Linked DNA regions of Homo sapiens: region 2 is linked to region 1. Evidence: promoter capture Hi-C in human tissues and cell types (Jung and others, 2019). All regions are on one chromosome and are shown on one strand. Each heading gives the region's core, a stretch centred on a gene start or on the middle of the fragment in contact. The rest is flanking DNA. Distances are from core to core; before and after follow the strand shown. Region 1 holds the start of SUSD5 (sushi domain containing 5). Region 2 overlaps UBP1 (upstream binding protein 1).

Region 1 (4,795 bases), core at 1,219-3,718:
AAATCTTCCTACAAGAAAACCTTCAGACACAGATGATCTCACACCAAAACAAACAAACAAAAGCCCTCACCCGCAGAAACCCTTTCAGAGTTAAAGAAGGAGCAACTTTACAATTTGGTTTAGGAACCATCATACGTTTGATATCAACACTTGGCAAAGATATTATAAAAAATGAAAATTACAGGCTAATATGTTTCATAAACATAGATTCAATAATCCCAAACCAGCTTCCCTCACTCCAGGCTCAGTTCTAGGTCTTCTTGCTGTAAAATTTTTCCTTAGGATTCTGCCCACGCACATGATTTCAAAGACCATCCTTATACAGATGACACGTTTTTAGAAATAGTTTCTCTCCAAATCTATCTCTTCAAACATCTGTAATTCATCATACTTAAGCTGAGCATTTCTTCTTCTTCCTCCCGTCACCATAGCACACAAATAACTAAATGTAGGAACTGGTGGCAGCTAAGAATTTAGTACCAAAAAGAATCCTTTGATAATATAGCTTATAACTCTTCCTGGTTCTAGTATAAAAGTTGGAGCTCATAAAATTGAGTTTACTATAAGGAAGTATACCTATAATTGTCCACTGAGGAAGTGGGGAAAGAAAAGGAAGGAGAATGAAGAAAAGGAATCATTTCTGGCAAGCAGTAACAAAGAATCATGTGCTCTGGTGTTGTCCTTACTTTCTCTTTGACCAGTGACATTTCTGCCTTTAATTTTCTATGACCCGTATCAAGCTAGACAGGCACAAAATATTGATCCTTATCCACATGGCATTCCACTTAAACAGTTATAATGGGATGAAACTCTAAAACCTTATGGATTGCAAAAATATTTATTTAAAAGGAATTAAAGTTGGCACAATATATCTTGTTCAAAGATTAATATTAGCTCCAATTTATTCTACTTGCATTCTTTAAAATCAGCTTAATTTTCATGGCTCAATGTCAGTCAAAAAACACTACAGTGAAGAATTATCAGTAAACTGCTAATAGGTATGGGATTCTTTTGAGGAGTGATGGAAATGTTCTGGAATTAGATGCATGCAAACCATGGTTTTCACAACCTAATGAATATACTAAAACCCACTTAACTGTATATTTTAAAATGACAAATTTTATGTGAAATACATGTCAATTAAAAAAATTAGCAGTGGTTACTAACAGCCTTCAAAGTTAAAAATGTTTTGTCTCTAACACTCTCTCTGAGGATATGGAGAAATACGACATTCATCCTTAATTAGGAACGGAGAGCTTTTCAAGCCTGCACTTAAAACAGAGAGCACTAAAAACTCTACGACCTAGACGGTTTTTTCCTTGGCTTTCCCCTTTTCCTGACAACCATGCTTTTTTTTTTTTTCCCCATGTCTTCTAGTTTCACTCAATATCGTTGGCTAAACAAGAATCACATTTTAAAATATACAACGCATCCTAAATTGACGGAGGGCTTTTCTCTTTTATCAGTCTAATTCGTCCTAAGCTAGAACTACCTCATGGGTGTGAGAACTGCTGGCTTTAAGCTTGCTTCCTTCAGATGCTCCTGTACCAAGTCAGCGGGATTTTGTTCTAATATGAAAACACAGCTGAATTAGCTTTTCAAAAGGGAATGGATACAGAGCTCCAATCCTGCTCATTTTAGGGCAAGTATTACAAGCTAAATTCAGGCTGAAAAACCAAGCAAACGAACAAGAAGTGGATCAATTCTCAGAGAACCTGCCATAATCTGGCCCTTGCCCACTTCTCTACCTCATGTCTCAAGACGTCCCCTCGCCTCCAGGTACTTTGCTTTATCATTTGTCCCGTTTTTCCTGTCACTCAGAGACAGCCTTTGCACGTGCTTTTCCCTCTGGCCAGGCCATTCTCTCTCTCTTAGCCTCGCTGATTCCCACTCATCTTTCACGTCTTCCCGGACCAAGCCAAAATATCCGAGGGAGTTTTCTAACCATCGGCGGTGTCCTCAGGGGCACATTAATAGACGTTGAGAAACTGAGGGACGGCGGAAAATCACCCCTTAGCAGAGGAGGTTCTAGGGCACCTTAGAGGTGATTTCATTCGAGCTTTCTTGGAGACCTTAGGAAAGCCAGCGGCGGGACTGCGGGACCTACGCGCTCGGCGCTAAGGGAGGGTCCAGGCACCAGGCGGGCGTTTGGGCGCACGGGCACGCGGAGACTTGGTGGGCCAGGAGAGGGATGCTGGGTCGCAGGACCGCGGCTCGTTCGTTCCTCTCAGGCTTGCGCTTGCCGCTTGCCGGGCCGGTCAGAGGGAGCAGCCCCGGCGAGCTACGCCCTCCCTGCCCGGACCCCACGCTCCACCCCCCGCCCCGCCGCCTCCCGCACACTCACCATCCGCCCGCACCGAAAGGCGCGGCAGACCGAGCAGGAGCAGCGCCGCCGCCCAGAGCCCGGGGAGGCGTCTGTGCCAACGGGCAGGCGGGCTGGGTCCCTCGGCAGTCATGGTCCGGGAGTGCGCGGGCCAGCGGACTCGGGTGAGGGCTCTGGCTGCGTTTGGGGTTGCCCAGGCCACTGCCCAGCGTGCGCCACTCGGCTCTGCGCTCTGCGCTCGGCTCACGAATCGCAGGCTTCGCGCCGGGCGCGCCGAGAGGGAGGAGCGCGGAGAGCCGGGGGAGGCTCGGGACGCAGAGCCGGAGCGCCTGGGCCGCCGAACTCCCGGGGGTCTTCTCTGTGGCGCCGAGGAGGCGGCTGTAACCCGGCTCCGCCTTCGCGCTGGGCACCTGGAAACCTCGGTGCCAAAAGGGGCTGCGCTGGGCCGCGCGCTCTGCGGGTACAGCGGGGCGGAGGGCGAGGGCGCAGGGAGGCGGGGAGAGTAGCTAGCCGGCCGCAAGGAGCCCCCGCCCGTCTGGGGGACCCTTGGCGAGAGGGTGACGCAGTCTGACAGGCGGAGCCCCTCCGGCAGGGCCGTTAGACAACGAGTGTCTAACTCTGTCCTCGGCCTCTACTTTTCAACTGGCCTCCTCCCCCTCCCCACCAACACTCTTTTTTTTTTTTTTTTTTAATGAAGAGAGGAAAATCTAAGTTACCTACCACCCTCACTCTAAGGTGTGAAACGCATGGAATAGCGAAATTCCTCTTTCCTAAAAGCGAAGTTTGAGAGTCACTGAGGAAAGGATATCTTCAGGAACGCTTCCTTCACCACTTTTCCTGGTACGCTAGTATTTCTCAAGGAGCAGTAAGAGGGCTAGTGAGATTGTCACCATTATCACCCACCTCCCAAATCAGGGCTTTTTGACCTCGAAAGGGTCTGAGATTCGGACTCTGTCGGTCTGGTCTGGGAATCTACACTCTAAGTTAAAGTGTCCCAATGGATTCTGCTGCAGGGGTCCCTGTTTGACTTGATTCCTTCTTCCTGCTCGCCCCTAGCCTGTCTCCCTACCACCAGCCCTGTTCAGTGAAAGAAGAACTTGCTTTCTTCATAGGTAGAGTAATAAAGATCAGTATTGTTATAACTGAGGCATGCGCGGTGCTCTACAATTTGCAAATCCCTTTTATATTGATGTATGGGTCAACAAACATCTATTGAGTGCCCATACATGCCTGTCCCTGTGCTAGACCCTGAATGTGGCTGCAATCGGTCCTAAAAATGTTCACACTTAAATAAAATATACTTACAATTGAAAAAGTGATTGGTGCTAAAGGGGCAGATGATTATCCTCATTTAATGAACCAGGACACAGACATTGAAATAATTTACTTTCTTTTCACAGTAAGAACTTGGATTTGAATCCACATCTGATTTACTACAGGTGTCATTTTTCAGCTTGCATTAATTGTTGAAATGTACTGAAAAGATTTCTTCTCTCCTTATTACTTCCCATCAACTACAAGGGCTACTATTAATGAGTAATTATTTTGGATAATTAAACTTTGCTTTCAAAATACAAATACTGGCCGGACACGGTTGCCCAGGCCTGTAATCCAAGCACTTTGGGAGGCGGAGGCCGACCAATCACCTGAGATCAGGAGTTGGAGACCAGCCTGGCCAACATGGTGAAATTTCCATCTTTACAAAAATACAAAAATTAGCCGGGCGTGGTAGCTGTTAATGCAGTGAGGTGTTAAATGCAGTGAGGCCTGACAAGTATAAATGAATTTACTTAGCTCCTTCCCTTTTTTTTTTTTTTTTTTTTTTTTTTGAGATAGAGTCTCGCTCTGTTGCCAGGCTGGAGTACCGTGGAGCGATCTTGACTCACTGTAACCTCAGCCTCCCAGGTTCAAGCGATTCTCCTGCCTCAGCCTCCCGAGTAGTTGGGACTACAGGCGTGCACCACCACGCCCAGCTAATTTTTGTATTTTTAGTAGAGACGGGGTTTCACCATGTTGGCCAGATGGTCTCGATCTCTTAACCTCGTGATCCGCCGGCCTCGGCCTCCCAAAGTGCTGGGATTACAGGCATGAGCCACCACACCCGGCCAGCTCCTTCCCTTTTAACAGTTAGCTGGTAACCTAAGGAGTGAGACTTCACATGTCTGGACTGGAGGGGTCATTTTAAAGCCTGGTTAGTGCTGAGAACGGAGGGGAGGGATCAGAAGGTACCTGCCAAGAGCTACCAACTCACTCACTCAGGAGCTTTGCCTAGGAACATTTTAAAAACAGTCAATTGAATATTACTACTTAATTCTCCTAACATTTTCAAGATTATGCTTATTCACAATTGTCTTGGCCTGTCCTGATGTGAGGAGATGGCATGCTGTAAGGGTAATTGGTATGGTTGCTTTAGAAAACCGGCTGTTCCATCTAAACATATACCTGCCTTAGGACCCAGAAATTCCTCTCCTA
Region 2 (4,795 bases), core at 668-3,167, 200 kb after region 1:
ATAGGCTAGTGGTGGCCCCTAAGACACCAATGCCAGTGGTTCACATCTGCTAGCCAGCTCGTCTCCAGAAAAAAGTACAGCACAGAAAATATCACAGTTCTAATTGTTCCATACTCAGTAAGAACCATACTAACTACACATATTCAGATGAAAACAGTATTAGAATACAGGTATTAGACTTCAGAGCTTTACTAAGCCCCATTCTAGAAGGTTGGACTAAAATACTAAAGATAAAAGGAGGACCAAAGTTAGGAAATTACAAGATATATAAGAAAAATTCTAGCATTATATAGCTTTTAGAATTTGTCTAGCAGGTTTTCCAGTTTCTACCAGAAACCCCTACCCAAAAAAGAACGGAAAGGAAAAAAGAAAGGAATGAAAAGGAAGGGAGGAAGGGAAAGAAAAAGAAAGAGAGGGAGGAGGGCGGGAGAGAGGAAAGGAACTTCTTATATGAAACAGGGAGAAAATCTCGTTATCTGAAAGTTCTCCCTAAAAGGAGATTGACTGCATTTTCAGAACTAGCAACATGTGATGGGGCCCTAACAATAAGACTAAAAGAAAAAAATAGGACAAAAAAAGACGAAAACAGAACAATCAGAGAAAGCACATTGCTAAATATGTTCAGCACATTCAAGAAGTTCCAAAGCACCTTCGCAAACCTATCACTTGATCCCCAAGGTTCCCCCACAAATTTAAGTAGTATAGTCAAAGATCCTAGGGCCAGGAAATAAAACTCTAGAAATTTGAAGCATATTTTAGGGATTCTCTAGCTAAAAAAAGGATGTAATTTCCAAGAAACTCATCCTGCAGTCTTTGGTAGTAGCAGACAGTAGCTCTTAATCCCAGACAAGCTTACAGAATATAACTGCATGCCTGGCACATCCACCAAAAATCACACAGCTGGCTTATCAAACAGAAGATGAAGCCAATGTAAAATGCTTTAAAAATGAACCCTTTTCAATCAGTGGGCTAAATATTTAGATACTGATGCCTTCAGAATAAGTAACCTTGTCTAGGTGGAATATACTAGTGTTATGTCAGCAAAACATTCACTGTGCATTTATAAGTTAATGGTTTTGCTACTAACAGTAGTTCATTACGTCATAATGAGGTGTCATTTTTCCCTTAATTTATTTGCTTGCATTAATTTTGTATATTAAATGTTTTTACATGTTTTAATTTGGAAGTAAATACAAGGAAGTTGAACTTAAAGCAGTCATACAACTTTACCCTGCCATCCCAAGTTAATCTGACAGGTATTTTAACCAGCTTGCCAAAATATTTTAAACATTAGGTATCACCTATCAGACTAATTATTTCTAAATCCTACCACCTATTCAGGGAACTGCCCTGGAAAGCCAGCTTGTCTCCACTGATAAATGACAAAGACAATTGCTTCAGAATTGATTTTCTTCAATGCCTTGATGGACACTGAATTTTGGCATTTGGTCTGGATGTCAAAGTTTGTTATATTTTCCTCAGAACACTGAATGGTCATGAATGAAGAACTGAGTTAAAATTACAAATTAGTAAATTCTATAATCCGGCATACACAAAAAAAGCACAAGGGGAATAGATGAAACAAGTCTGGCAAATTGTGGAGAATGTTGAAGTTGGCATGAGAACTTATGAGAACTCATGATATATACCAGATATATTTATTATATACCACCATATGATGGATATATGTGGATTCATTGTACCATTCTCTTTACTTCTGGGTATGTTCAAATTTTACCATAATAAAAAGTTAAAAAAATTGTTCTAACATTTTTGGATCCAGTTTTAAAGACCTCAGTATAGGGCCCATCAAATCCTACTAAATTTTATTATGGAGTTCACAATTAAAACAACTTTCCAACCCTTTTACACTGATACATTAACAAAAAAAAAAACACAGAACAAAGAAAGACAAAAACAGAACAATCAGAGAAAGCACATTGCTGAATATGTTCTGCACATTCAAGAAGTTCCAAAGCACCTTTGGTAACCCATCATTTGATCCCTAAGTAACCTTCCAGGTGCCCTCCAGGTACTGGGCAGCTGGCTTTCCCATACATGCCAAATTAGTTAACACACCAAATTTAGATTGCCTGAATCCAATTCCCACCACAAGGCTGCCCTTCCCATGCTTACCCACTAAAAAGGCAGATCCACAGAGGGCAGGTCTTTCCAATAGAATGCCCCTCCACACTGAGGGCCCAGCAGCACCTGGGCCCTGACATGCCACTCTGTGGGAAGATGGAAGGATCAAGAGAACTTGTCTCTTGCTAACACTTAGTTAGCCACATGAGGTTTTACCTTTCCCCAATTAAGATTCTTTCATTAACCCTGCCCTGTAATGCTATGGAATTTATAACTAGCCATGATGTATGATGGATACAGGCTAGGAGGGGCCAGGGGGCAGGGATGGTTCTGAGGATACATCCTAAAAGAACAGGTTAGCTGGAAAACAGCTATGCCTCCTATACCTAGGATGACTGACTTCTTCATTCAGATACATGAGTAGGGTGAACAGAGATTTCTATTTTTTAAATGAAACTTTACAAGGTAAAGGATTTTTTAAAGTTTTATGCCAACATTGACATTCTTCCCCATATTATCTTTTACTTTTAGAGAGGCTTATAGGTTTTTGTTGTGGTGATGAGTTTTTTACCCCATAACTACAACTAACTTTTCTATTGCTCCTTGATTTCCAAGGGTCTTTCAAAATTACTCTACCCAATAACTGCTATAATTCCCATTTTACAGGTGAATAAACAAAATATAGCTCATAAAGTTAAAAAGTTGTAATACAACAATTATTGAAGTGAAATTAATTTTTTTTTAAACAAAAACTCATTCAATCACAGCAATATCCATTGGGAATTAAAATGGACTGTCCTTACCTTTACTAATTTTCCATTGATCTCAGGCATATCACCCATTTTCCGATTATCCAGCATCCGAATTTCATATGACTGACCTATTTAAAGAAATTGTGTATAAAAAACAATCCTTATAAAGAACATCACTTTGCTTAACATAATTCAAAATGCATGTTTCTCAGAACATACATTACACAATGATAGTTTGTTAATTTGCTACGGAAGCAAATTCAGGTTGATCCTTCTCTTCCCTGAAAATCACACCAACCTTCTGTTCTAACATTATTACAGGAGACAAGAGTTTCTCTGTCAATTTATCTTCATCTGCCACTCTCTTACACTAAACTTTTATTATGCTTGCATTACCTAAGACTAATTTTTGTAACAGCTTTTCTGAGATATAGTTTACATACCATAAAATTCACATTTTTAAAAAGTGTGTAAATCATTGGTTTTCAGTATAGTCAGAGTTGTGCAACCATCACCACTACCAGTTTTAGAACACTCGCATCATCCTAAGAAGAAACCTCTATTAGTCACTTCCCATCCCTCCCCCACCCCCCACCTGGCCAACTGCTAGCGATCACCAATCCACTTTCTGCCTCTACGATTTGCCCACTCTGGATACTTTCATAAACAGAATCATACAATATGTGGGTATTTGTGCCTTGCTTTTTAAACTTAGCATAATGTTTTCAAGGTTCACCCATATGTAGTATATATCAGTCCTTTTTATTGCCAAATAATATTCATTCCTTTTTATTGCCTAATACTATTCCACTGTGTAAAGACTAAACCAAATTTTGTTTATCCATTCATCAGCTGATGGATATTTGGGTTGTTTCCACTTTTAGTGTTTATTAGAAAACACAGATATTCACACATCAATCTAGATAATTAGGAAAATGCTGCTGTAAAAAAATTAATAATGTACTCCAAATCCACAAAAAATGATTTCTGGATTATCTGTTATTAAATAATAAAAATGACAGTATAATTTGGCATGCAGAAAATCAGTAAAAATTAAAGAATGCTTATAATATCACATGAAGTTGAGAATCTTTATAACTACCAACACCTTGTCCATACTCCCAGGGGGCTTACAGAAAAATATACAAAGGATTCTAGATTATAGGGTCAAAATTCAACAAGGGGTTATCAAAATACAACTACATCACTCCAAGGCTGGTGAAGGAAAACAGCATATATATAGTCTGTTACAAAGAAAAGTTGCTTACATTCATTCAACAGACAGAGAAACACTAAAAAACACCTGTATGGGAAGAGACATTTTTAAAAAGTTAAACTAAGACACAGATTGGAAGAAGATATATGCACTATATTTAACAATGGATCTATATTCTGAAAACAGAAATAATTTTCAAAATGAAGAATATAAAGTTTTGAAAAATACACCATTTATGTTTAAAATTACACTCAACCTCACAAGAATTTAGGAAATAAAAATCAACAAAAGGTTTATGCTGATTATCAGATCAATAAGAAACATTAATTTTTATTTATTTATTTATTTTGACAGGGAGCTTCGTTCTGTCGCCCAGGCTGGAATGCAGTGGCGCAATCTCGGCTCACTGCAACCTCCACCTCCCAGGTTCAAGCAATTCTCCCTGCCTTGGACTCCTGAGTACCTGGGATTACAGGTGCCCGCCACCACGCCCAGCTAATTTTTGTATTATTTTTTAGTAGAGACAGGGTTTCGCCATGTTGGCCAGGCAAGTCTTGAACTCCTGACCTCGGGTGATTCACCCGCCTCAGCCTCCCAAAATGCTGGGATTACAGGCGTGAGCCACCGCACCCGGCCATAAGAAGTATTTAATTAGGCTGCGCGCAGTGGCTCACGCTTGTAATCCCAGCACTTTGGGAGCCCGAGGCGGGCAGATCACCTGAGGTTGGGAGTTCGAGACCAG

What was found. The method cuts DNA at HindIII sites, captures the fragments that hold promoters and counts their contacts. A contact is called where the count stands out against the background at its distance.
Region 2: a fragment that was not itself captured here is called in contact with the fragment with the promoter of SUSD5 in region 1 in 1 of the 25 tissues and cell types used here (hippocampus).

What each region holds. Positions count from the first base shown.
Region 1 is chr3:33,216,342-33,221,136 of GRCh38, forward strand. It overlaps SUSD5 (sushi domain containing 5), which reads right to left and starts at 2,469. Exons shown (of 5, transcript NM_015551.2): 1 at 2,345-2,469. The coding sequence starts at 2,456. The HindIII fragment of the contact is 17,520 bases long and covers 1-4,795 here.
Region 2 is chr3:33,413,870-33,418,664 of GRCh38, forward strand. UBP1 (upstream binding protein 1) reads right to left here. Exons shown (of 16, transcript NM_014517.5): 3 at 2,889-2,965. It also overlaps a transcript of FBXL2 not described here and the pseudogene RNU7-110P. Among named protein-coding and RNA genes, the nearest start is that of UBP1, 24 kb to the right of the region's middle. The HindIII fragment of the contact is 5,299 bases long and covers 1-4,567 here.